Regions from separate parts of the Homo sapiens genome. Here region 1 is linked to region 2. The links are contacts of gene promoters, found by promoter capture Hi-C in human tissues and cell types (Jung and others, 2019). All regions are on one chromosome and are shown on one strand. Each heading gives the region's core, a stretch centred on a gene start or on the middle of the fragment in contact. The rest is flanking DNA. Distances are from core to core; before and after follow the strand shown. Region 1 overlaps MED1 (mediator complex subunit 1). Region 2 holds the start of LRRC3C (leucine rich repeat containing 3C).

Region 1 (5,266 bases), core at 1,493-3,992, 520 kb before region 2:
GCTCCCTACCACCATATAAGCCTTGCTCTTCGGCCTTCCATCATTTTGAACCCTAAACCTCATAGATTTAGAACGAAACACTGTATAAAAACAAACAGATAAAGGGTTAAAATATTACAAATAAATAGCTAAAATAATCTTCCCTCCCCCAGTCACTCCTAAGAAACAGACACCAAACATTACTTAAGTGTCCAAAATGACCAAAGTCCTTCATTTGCCCATGACTCAAACGGACAACTACCTCAAACAAAGTTGAACAACCTTCATGCAAATGCATCAAGGAATGTATTGCTTTTTCATTTTCTGCCCAGCCCTTCATATACATGCACTAAAATGAGTTTAAAACATGGCCTAAAAATGGAAAAAGGGAGAAGAAAATATATATGAATATTTCCCACAAAACTGTTTCCCTCCCTTCCCTCTCCCTACACCCCTCCCACCCCCCTCCCTTTCTTAAGCAAGTATTTTAACTTTCTTTCTGGCACAGGAACAAAGAAGACTTCCTGGTAACCAGAATCAAACCCTGTGGTTTCTTTAATAGGGTCTGGATATGCCTTTCTAATTCACCCAGCTTGATGTCAAAGCCATGCCATTTAGGATTCTTAACCAAATCAGACCTGTCTGACTCACCCCTTATGGTGGTTTGCCTATAAACTTATCAATAGTTTTTTTTCCTCTGGCCCTGTTTCTTTTAGGAAATAAGGTTCCTAATTCCCAATCAGGGCCACATCCATAAGATCATCATCTTCCTCCCCAATCATAAAGTCTGGGCTGAGCCTTGAGGGTCTGTCTGCAGATAAGATTGTGTTACTTGTCATAGACAAGGACTGGTCTGAAGAGATGGGTGATTTGGACCAACTCTCTGGCTTGATGCTATGAGATTTTTTCTTGTCTCGGTCTTTGTCCCGGTCTCGGTCCCTATCTTTGTCTTTTACTTTCTTCTTTTCCTTTTTGTGCTTCTTATGTTTCTCTGTGCTGTATTCTGGAAGTGGTCGGATACCATCGTCTGAGCTGGGACTATTCTGATAAGATTTCTCTGCTATGGAGGAGCCTGACTCACTTTCACTGTCCAGATTCTGGGGGGTATATGCTGGTGACTTACTATGGCTGGGAGAGCCACGCTCATGCTTTGGAGTGGAACCACTGATGAGTGGAGAGCCATAGTTTTTAGAAGAAGCCATTTGAGGCCTAAGCCCTTCTCCACTACTTTCCCCAGGTTTCTGCAAAGTCACTTTGGCTTTAATGCTAGGGGAGCCTCCATCATGCTTACTGATGATAATTTTTGCCACACCTGTGCTCCCCACATTTTTTGACTCTGAGGTCTTCTTAGAAGAATCCACTGAACTCCCGGAGGTGGAAACCTTTGATTTGTCTTTATCACTTTTCTCACGCTTGCCCTGAAACTCTCCTCCTGACATGTTATGTTTGGAGGACATAGGATGGCTGGAAGAATTTGTGCTCACCCCCATCTGGCCGTCCAGTGGGTCTTCACCCCCAGGGCCACTGGTGACAACCCCATGCTTCAGTTTATCTATGACAGCTGTCAAGGACGGCTTCTTGTTTCTGCTGGGAGATTTTCCTTTAGAACTCCCATGCTGGTTCTGAGAGGATGACATGGAAGAGCCACTTGAGGAAAAGGAGGAGGAAGATGCCGTACAGGAATTAGATGATGGGGGAGTTTTCTGGGACAACGAGCCTGAGGATCCTAACCCTGAAGATGACTTCATGCCAGAGCTTGAACTAGTTCCAGACATATGAGAACCACCAGAACCTGAACTGATAGGGGACTTGGCTTTAGAGGATGGAGGAGTTCCAGGAACAGGCTTCATTGGAGAGGCAAGCTTGTCAGAGCCTCCAGGTGGCCTTGAATGAGAAGGGGATATGTTTGGTTTACTTAAAGAAGGATTCATAAGTGATGATGGCTTTCCTTGAGGTTTCATCTTGGTGCTGCTAGAGCCACTGCTCAGTCCATGCTTGGTTATGGGAGAGGAGCCTGGCTTCCCCCCAGACTGGGATGAATTTTTGGACTGGCTAGATCCAGAAGACCCCTGGCTAGAATACATACTGCTACTTAACTTGGAACTTGATGAACCTTCTGATTTACTGCTTTTCATCTTCCCTGAGGTGGAAGCAGATGAGGAAGAGGAGGAAGAATGGCTATGGTGGCTTTTGCTGCCTGAGGAAGACACAGAACCACTGCTGGTATACTGACTGTGAGAGGAAGGCTTGCCCACCATCACTGTTCCCTTAGGAATCTGAATAGTGATTTTGGGAATGGGTGGTGTGGCAACACCTGGGGGAGTCTGAGATCTTCCTGCACTGCCTGGCGATTTAGATCCACCTGTACTGGTAGGTGGGGTAAAAGGTCTGTTAGAAGAACTATGAGATGGAGACTTTCCCTCAGTGTCTGCCTTCTTCCGCTTTGGAGGCTTATCTTTGCTTTTCCCATCATTAGAAGGGGTCCGACTGCGCTTCCCTGGTTTGCTGTCTAATCCGGGCCCCGAGAGAGTACTATTACTGGTGCCATTGCCTTCCTTTACCCTCTTTTGAGTCTTTTCTTTCCCTAAGTCCCCAGTGGTCAGTAAAGGACCCTGACTACCACTGTGATGCTCCATAAGATCTGCAGGAGCTAAAGCTTTGCCGGCTACTGAAATAATACTGAAATCAACTGTGTCGGCTTGGTTATTGCCCTTAAACTTGGTCTCCCCATTATCACCTCCAAGCATTGGCACCCCCAAAGTATTTAGTGCCTGAGATGCAAATCCTTTGAAATCATCATTATCCCCACTTTGGCTGCTTTCATCAAAATATTCTTCTCCAAAACCACTTTGGCTCTGGCTGTTCAATAAATCAGGATTGAAATCTACTCCATCATGAAAAAAATGATTGGTAGGAGAGTCACTACTGGGGCTTCCAGCAGCATCTGCAATAAGATCAGCTGGATCAGTGTATGGATTTTCATTATTGTTAGTTTGAAAGACATCAGAGTCAAACAGGGTACTCTGAGAATGCCCAGAGCTTGAAGAATCTCGAAGAGGGGTGCCAATGGCTGGGCAATCATCACTAGTGCTGGGAAGTTTAGAAGCTTCTTCTGCAATGTCTGAAAGGATGTCAGTTACATCTGGGCCAATGCTGTCTGAACTGGATAGTCGGACCATCCTTTGAATACTGGGTTGGGGGTGAGGTACTGGTTGTGGGTAAGTTGTTGGGGGAGTGCTACACTGGCTTGGAGCTGGAGTGATGTGTGGCGTATCCAGCGTGTCAGCTGTCATGTTGACATCAAAGATAGGGTTCTGTGAGTCAACATCCATTGAAAATAGCTCCCTCTGAAAGTCATCTTCAGTCTGGTGCTTTGGTTTCTCAGGTGGTAATCTTGATGACTTCTTTTTCTTGGTCTTGTTGCTCCCCGAGCATATTTCCATGCGGGGTGAGCCGGAAGAGGAGTTCTGCCTTTCTAAAGGGCTGCTTCCATAAAGGGTTGAGAAATCCTGGGCAGGATTATCTTTAAGAAGGTTCATGAGCATCGGGTGGTTCTTGGTGTTGCCGGCCATCGAAGAGACAGGTGGCGGCGTGTGATGAGGAGGGGTCGGACTCGAGCCAATGGTAGACCCCCCGTTCCCTGTGATTTGCAACAAACTGGTAAGAATTGGGTTCTGAGACACCTTGCTGAAGTCCTCCCCATGGCCCACCGACTCATGCCGATCTTTGATGCTCATGCTCATATTAAACAAGGTGGTAATGGGACCCCCCGGAAAGGTGTTGGTTGGTGTAGTGGTACCACTCATTGGGTTGTTGCCTGTGGTCATGCCATACCCTGGGCTGCTAGCCGGGGGCAGGTTCTTTTTCACCATGTCTTCAACTGTCTCTGCAATGAGGGACAGTGCTGGGGTGTCGGCTTGAATGGTTTCAGCTTTCCTCCGAATAGCCCTCATCGTCACAGGGATGGACATACATCTGCAAAATAAAGAAGAAAACAAAGTTAACATTGCAATAGCTGCTGAATGAGACCTGAGATTTAGATATAACATCAGAGTTTTGCAGTAAGCAGTTTTCAGGTAGGGCAAATAATCTGTAAGACAAAAATAGTTCTATCAAATACCAGAGCTTTGGGTAAATACATTCTAAAAATCTAACCCAACATAAAATTGTCAACCTCTTATGAATCACACAACAAAAGCAAACTATAAACAAGAGTCCAAATAATTGAATTTCAAACTTAACTAAAAGAAAATTGGTAATAATGGAACTCAGTAAGAAAATGCCTCCTTAGGGGCCGGGCACAGTGGCTCACGCCTGTAATCCCAGCACTTTGGGAGGCCAAGGCGGCTGGAACATGAGGTCAGGAGATCGACACCATCCTGGCCAACATGGTGAAACCCCGTCTCTACTAAAAATACAAAAATTAGCTGGGCGTGGTGGCGCGTGCCTGTAATCCCAGCTACTCGGGAGGTTGAGGCAGGAGAATTGCTTGAACAAGGGAGGCGGAGGTTGCATTGCACTGAGATCACACCACTGCACTCCAGCTTGGCAACAGAGTGAGACTCCGTCTCAAAAAAAAAAATGCCTCCTTAGGTCGGGCGCGGTGGCTCACTCCTGCAATCCCAGCACTTTGGAAGGCCGAGGAGGGTGGATCACTTCGGGTCAGGAGTTTGAGACCAGCCTGGCCAGCGGGGTGAAACCCTGTCTCTACTAAAAATACAAAAAATTAGCCAGCCGTGGCGGTGCACAGCTGTAATCCCAGCTACTCAGGAAGGGTAGACAGGAGAATCACTTGAACCCAGGAGGCAGAGATCGCAGCGAGCCAAGATCGTCCCATTGCACGCCAGCCTTGGTGACAGTGCAAGACTTCATTTCAAAGGAAAAAAGAAAATGTCGTCCTCTGGGGGGCTTCATATGGTAATTACAGGGATACATAATTTATTTTAATTAAGGAACCATTAGAAAAATCTCCGCCGGTCAGAGTGGCTCACGCCTGTAATCCCAGCACTTTGGGAGGCCGAGGCGGGTGGATCACAGGGTCAGGAGTTTTGAGACCAGCCTGGCCAACATAGTGAAACCCCATCTCTACTAAAAAAAAGAAAAAATACAAAAAATTAGCTGGGCATGGTGGCAGGTGCCTGTAATCCCAACTACTTGGGAGGCTGAGGCAGAATTGCTTGAACCCGGGAAGCAGAGGTTGCAGTGAGCTGAGATTGTGCCATGGCACTCCAGCCCAGGTGACAGTACAAGACTCCATCTCAAAAAAAAAAAAAAGAAAAGAAAAATC
Region 2 (5,645 bases), core at 1-2,500:
AGAAGAGGCTGGCAGAGGTCGACTAGGTCTACAGGAGTTGAGCCGAAAACTTCTGCTGCCATAGCTGGCAGGTGGCTGCTTAGTGCTGGGCCCTGATGTGGTTTCATAACCTGCCTCAAACCAGAGCCTGCAGCAACTCTGTTGTGTTAACCACTTTTTTGCTGGTAGCTCTTTCCCCCTCCTTCCCGCCCCACCCTCTTGGCTCCACATACAAATATCCGGGCCCAGCCAGTATGCCAGACACTCAAGCCAAGGCTGAGCACCACCAGGGCAGCCACCAGGTGAGCCCTTCCCATTCCCTCCCCCAGGAAAGAGCAGCCCTCACAACAGCAAACCTCCTGTCTTCTGGAAGAGGAGCACAAAACATCCAGGCCTGGATGGGGACCCCAACGGGGAGTCCGGGGCAGCACGTCACAATGCCATGTCCATTCCGCCCACCCCCCAAGCTGCAGGACCACAGCTGATAACCTCTCAACTTTGGCCCAGCCACCCCGACTGGGGGAGGGCGGTAGGAGCGGAAAGCGAGTGCCCAGGCGAACCCGCACTAAGCACAGGAGAGGAGGAGCGAAGAGGCGGAGTCCTCACTGTTGTTGGGGTTTTCTGAGTGAGACCTCGGGTGCGGGGCCGGGGGGAGGGGTCCCGCTCTGTTCCCCAGCCTGGGTCTTCGCACTCGGAACCCGGTCCGGTCCGGGACCCCACAGCCATCTCCACGCGTTCACCCAGCCCTGGAGGCAGCCAAACGTTTATCCCCGAAGCCGAGCCGCTCCCCGCCTCCCACCCCTAGCCGAGGCGCTCCTCCCGACGTTCCACCCCCGGCCTCCCGCTCGCACTTTATTCCTTGGCCACCTCCCCAGCCGATGCACCCCCTCGGCTGATGCACTCCCTCCACCCCCCACTCCCTCTGCCCCCGTCTCTCCAGCCCGGGGCGCCTCCCCAGCAGCCCCCACCTTCTCTCCCGCCCCTCCCGTAGCCCTGGGGCCTCTTGGTTCCTTCCGGGCTCACCGTGTGGGGCCGAAGATCAACGGCCCGGGAACGGTTCCCGGGAGCGGGGGCCGCTGCTGCTCCAGCAGCTGTAACAACCCGCGGCTGCAGCCTCCCCGCTGGCAGCTCCGGCCGAATCAGCGCTCCGCGCCGGTCCCCGTACGTCACCGCCCCGCGCCGGCACGCCCGACGCCTTCTGGGAGTTGTAGTTTCTTCCGCTGGCTCCGGGCCGGCCCTCCCGACGCCTCCTGGGAGTTGTAGTTTTTCCTGGGCTCCGTTCCCGGCCTCTTCGGGGACGCACGGTTGGAAGTTGTACCGTGACGTGATGGTCAGATCGGATGATAGAATTTTGGTGCGTAACAATTCCAACTTTTGCTTCTGTGCCCTTCAAGTGTATTTTATCCGTGCCCCAGTTTTGCAGATGAGGAGACTCGGACTTGTAAGTAACTTTCTGTAGGTCTTTGCTGGGTCCTAGACTGGATCGAAACCCAAATATTCTGACCCCAACTGCAGGATTTTTCCACTGCACCTGGCTGCCTCCGCCCTGGCCCCAGATTGGCTCCTCCAGAAACAGACTAGCCCGGCCCTTTGCCCTGCTGGGCCCTCCTGGGAGAGCGCTTTTCACAACATTGGCTGGGATGAGGGTCTGGAGGGCCCGGAACGGAGCCTGCCTTCTCCTTCTCAGTCACGCTTGGCCCAGGCTGCCCCGGACCGGGCCACATCCTTGGCCGCCCCGCACCTGACGTGAGAAGAGGCTACGTATCATAGATTCCTCCATCAGTAGTAAGGAGCCTGAGTTTCTGTCTCAGGTCAGCTTGTGTGGCTTTGAATGAGAGGCTCTGGTCTGCAGTTTTCACATCTGCATCGTCTAAAGGCAAGGGCACAGACTTTACTGCCTGGTAGACATGGGGTAGGCCCTCCTTTATTGGCAGTGTGACCCTGGGCAAATTACTTGTCTTAATCTCCAATTCCACACCTGTGAAACCCCACCTCCAAGGTTGTGGGAACCCAAAAGAATGTATGTAAAGCACCTGTTGCATTGTAGGAATCTACTTAATATTACTGTAGGAGGTTGAACTAAATGGCTCTTGAGGTCTCCTCGGTTACTCCCATTCTCCATGTCACCAAGAGGTCTTGTCTGGGTAGTTTCAACTCCTTACCCAGCTTCTTTCTAAGTCCACTCTATGCAGGGCAGGGCTGGAATAGCAAGGTCAGATGATGTCATGGCATGCCAACCTGACTCTGAATGGCAGTTCATGGCACCCTGAACTGAAAGTGAGGGAACAGGAAGGAAAAGGCTAGCCCAGGGAAACTGCGGAGCACTTTACTCGGACTACACCTACCTTTCCTTCCCCAGGGGGCTGCCAGGAAACAGTTGTCACACAGCTGGAGTGGGACCCCCAGAGGCACTTAGTGGTCACCAGGCAGGTGGGTATTTGAACCACCCAGAGCAGAACAGGCAGCTTCTTCAATATTTCCAGGGCCAATGGCCCCAAAAGGGCTCATTCCAAGATCGAAATAATCATCTGAGTCTGAAATAGCTCTGCCTATGTCCTGTGGAAGTTTCTCCTGGTTTGTGGAGGTGCCTTTCCTTATAGTCATCTTTCTGCAGACATAAGCAAACCCAGTGTTGTTCTTTTCACAGAAACCTCCCCAGCATTAAGGCAAGAAAGGTGTCTCTGTTTTTTCCGAAGTGTGCCTGCTTGACTCCTTTGATTTTTCTCTGGGATTCTTCATCCTCCATCAAGTTGATCGATCCCTCTGGATCTTGGTCAGTTTCCTGACATCTCTATGAAGTTCAGTGACCCAGACTGAGTCCACGTCTCAAATAAGGTTCTGACTAATGCAGAGTCTAACAGAAAGATTACTGAACATGTCATGCACTATTAATAACTCCTGTTATCGAGGATTTTTTTTTCACAATAGGAATGAACAGAGTTCTGACTCACTCTAGGTTTGTGGTAAATTGCAGATCACTTTCTGCTTTATTTAGCGGGAGTCCCTGTTGTCATCTTTCTCCTTCTCTCTTGGCCCTCATAATTATCATATCTTCCCCAAACGTTCTTCAGCTGTGAATAGCCCTAAGCACTATTCAGAGTGAGTGACAGCTCTCTTATTTCGTGCTGGGGGACATACAAACCCTTGGACAAACACTTGTCACTGTGTGCCAAGAAGCTGAAAAATTCTTCTTGCCTCAGAGCCATAATTACACTTTTGGTAGCATATTCTAAGGAAGTCATCCCATGTACAGGAAAAGCTGCAATGTGTCAGGATGTTCATTCCAGCAATATTTATAGTAGTGAAAAACTGAAAGCAACCAAATGCCCAAGAAAAAAATTACAGTATATCCACTGGATGGAATAGTATGAAGCCATTTAGGACAGATTGTGAAAACCCTGTGGCAGTATGGGGAATGTTTGCTAAGTTATATGAAAAGATGAGGACACAAAATAGCATAACATACATTCCCCAGGGATATAGTCAGCAAAGTCTAGAATGAAGAAAATTAGGACAAACACCCAATTCCCTTAACAAATAAAACTGGGGCCAGGTATGGTGACTCACGCCTGTAATCCCAGCACTTTGAGAGGCCAAGGCTTGTGTCCAGGAGTTCGAGACCAACCTGGACAACATGGTAAAACCCCGTGGTCTACAAAAAATACAAAAATTAGTTGGGCATGGTGGTGTGTCTATAGTCCCAGCTACTCAGGAGGCTGAGGTGGGAGGATCAATTGAGCCCGGGAGGTCAAGGCTGCAGTGAGCTGTGATCGTGCCAGTGCATTCCAGTCTGGGCAGCAGAGTGAGATCCTGTCTCAAAAAAAAAAAAAAAAAAAAAGGAAAAAAAAGAGGGGGAGAGACTTACAGATTAAAATAAATTAAATGATATATCAACTAAAAGTCTTATTTGGATCCTGATTCAAGCAAACTGACTTTAAAAAAAAAAAAAAAAAAAAAAAAAAAAAGGCCGGGCATGGTCACGCATGCCTGTAACCCCAGTACTTTGGGAGGCCAAGGTAGGCGGATCACCTGAGGTCAGGAGTTTGACACCAGCCTGGCCAACGTGGTGAAACTCCGTCTCTACTAAAACTACAAAAACTAGCTGGGTGTGGTGATGGGCGCCTGTAATCCCAGCTACTCAGGAGGCTGAAGCAAGAGAATTGCTTGAACCCAGGAGGCAGAGGTTGTAGTGAGCCAAGATTGCACCATTGGCACTCCAGCCTGGGTGACTGAGCAAGGCTCTGTCTCAAAAAAAAAAAAAAAAAAAAAAAGATTTTATTAAGTTATCAGGCAAATTTGAATACTGACAAGGTATTCAACGATATTAAGGAATTCTAAATGTTTAGGCGTGATATGGAATTGTGGTAAGGTTGTTTTTTTAATTTAAAAAGTCCTCCATGGCTGGGCGTGGTAGCTCATGCCTGTAATCCCAGCACTTTGGGAGGCTCAGGCAGACAGATCACCTGAGGTCAGGAGTTCGAGACCAGCCTGGCCAACATGGTGAAACCCCGCCTCTACTAAAAATACAAAAATTAGCCAGGCGTGGTGACAGGCGCCTATAATCCCAGCTACTTGAGAGGCTGAGGCAGGAGAATCGCTTGAACCCAGGAGGTGGAGGATGCAGTGAGCCGAGATCGTGCCATTGCACTCCAGCCTGGGAGACAAGAGTGAAACTTCATCTCAAAAAAAAAAAAAGTCTTCCTTGGCTGGGTGCGTTGGATCACACCTGTAATCCCAGCACTTTGGGAGGTGAGGCAGGCAGATCACAAGGTCAGGAGTTTGAGACCAGCCTGGCCAGCATGGTGAAATCCCGTCTCTACTAAAAATAGAAAAAAATTAGCCAGGCATGGTGGCACGTGCCTGTAATCCCAGCTACTCGGGAGGCTGAGGCAGGAGAATTACTTGAAACTGGGAGGCAGAGGTTGCAGTGAGCCGAGATCATACCACTGTACTCCACCCCGGGTGACAGAGAGAGACTTCGTCTCAAAAAAAAAAAAAAAAAAAAAGTCCTCCTTTCAGACATACATACATACTAAAATATCTGTGGATGAAATGATACAGTGATTGCATTTGCTTCGAAATAATCTGGACTGGGAACCATAGGGAAATAATAAGATGAGCCATGAGGTGATAATTATGGAAGCTGTGTGATGAGGACATGAAGTTCCTTATATTATTTTCTATACTTTTTTTTTTTTTTTTTTTTTGAGACAGAGTCTCACTCTGTCACCCAGGCTGGAGCACAGTGGTGCAGTTTCGGCTCACTGCAACCTCCGCCTCCCTAGTTCAAGAGATTTTCCTGCCTCAGCCTCCCGAGTGGGCTGGGATTACAGGTGCACGCCACCACATCCAGGTAATTTTTGTATTTTTAGTTGAGACAGGGTTTCACCATGTTGGCCAGGCTGGTTTTGAACTCCTGACTTCAAGTGATCTGCCCACCTTGGCCTCCCAAAGTGCTGGGATTACAGGCATGAGCCACCACGCCTGGGCTATTTTCTCTACTTTTTTAATGTTTAAAACTGTTCATAATAAAAAGTCTAAACCTGCATATACGTTAATGATTAAGATAAGCCAAAATAGAGCAGCACTGGTAACATCCTCTGGCACCAGACTGCCAGGGTTCAACTCGCAGCTCCTCTAGTTACCAGCTGTGTAACCTTAAGCAA

The links. The method cuts DNA at HindIII sites, captures the fragments that hold promoters and counts their contacts. A contact is called where the count stands out against the background at its distance.
Region 1: a contact is called between a fragment that was not itself captured here and the fragment with the promoter of LRRC3C in region 2, in 1 of the 25 tissues and cell types used here (dorsolateral prefrontal cortex).

The regions. Positions count from the first base shown.
Region 1 is chr17:39,406,768-39,412,033 of GRCh38, forward strand. MED1 (mediator complex subunit 1) reads right to left here. Exons shown (of 17, transcript NM_004774.4): 17 at 1-3,954. The coding sequence ends at 708. Among named protein-coding and RNA genes, the nearest start is that of FBXL20, 7.8 kb to the left of the region's middle. The HindIII fragment of the contact is 5,074 bases long and covers 206-5,266 here.
Region 2 is chr17:39,926,482-39,932,126 of GRCh38, forward strand. LRRC3C (leucine rich repeat containing 3C) reads left to right here and starts at 1,251. Exons shown (of 4, transcript NM_001195545.2): 1 at 1,251-1,333. It overlaps ORMDL3 (ORMDL sphingolipid biosynthesis regulator 3), which reads right to left and starts at 1,120. Exons shown (of 4, transcript NM_139280.4): 1 at 1,003-1,120. LOC124903999 (a long non-coding RNA gene) reads left to right here and starts at 239. Exons shown (of 2, transcript XR_007065750.1): 1 at 239-281; 2 at 447-521. RefSeq lists enhancers at 374-984, 985-1,596. The HindIII fragment of the contact is 12,451 bases long and covers 1-5,645 here.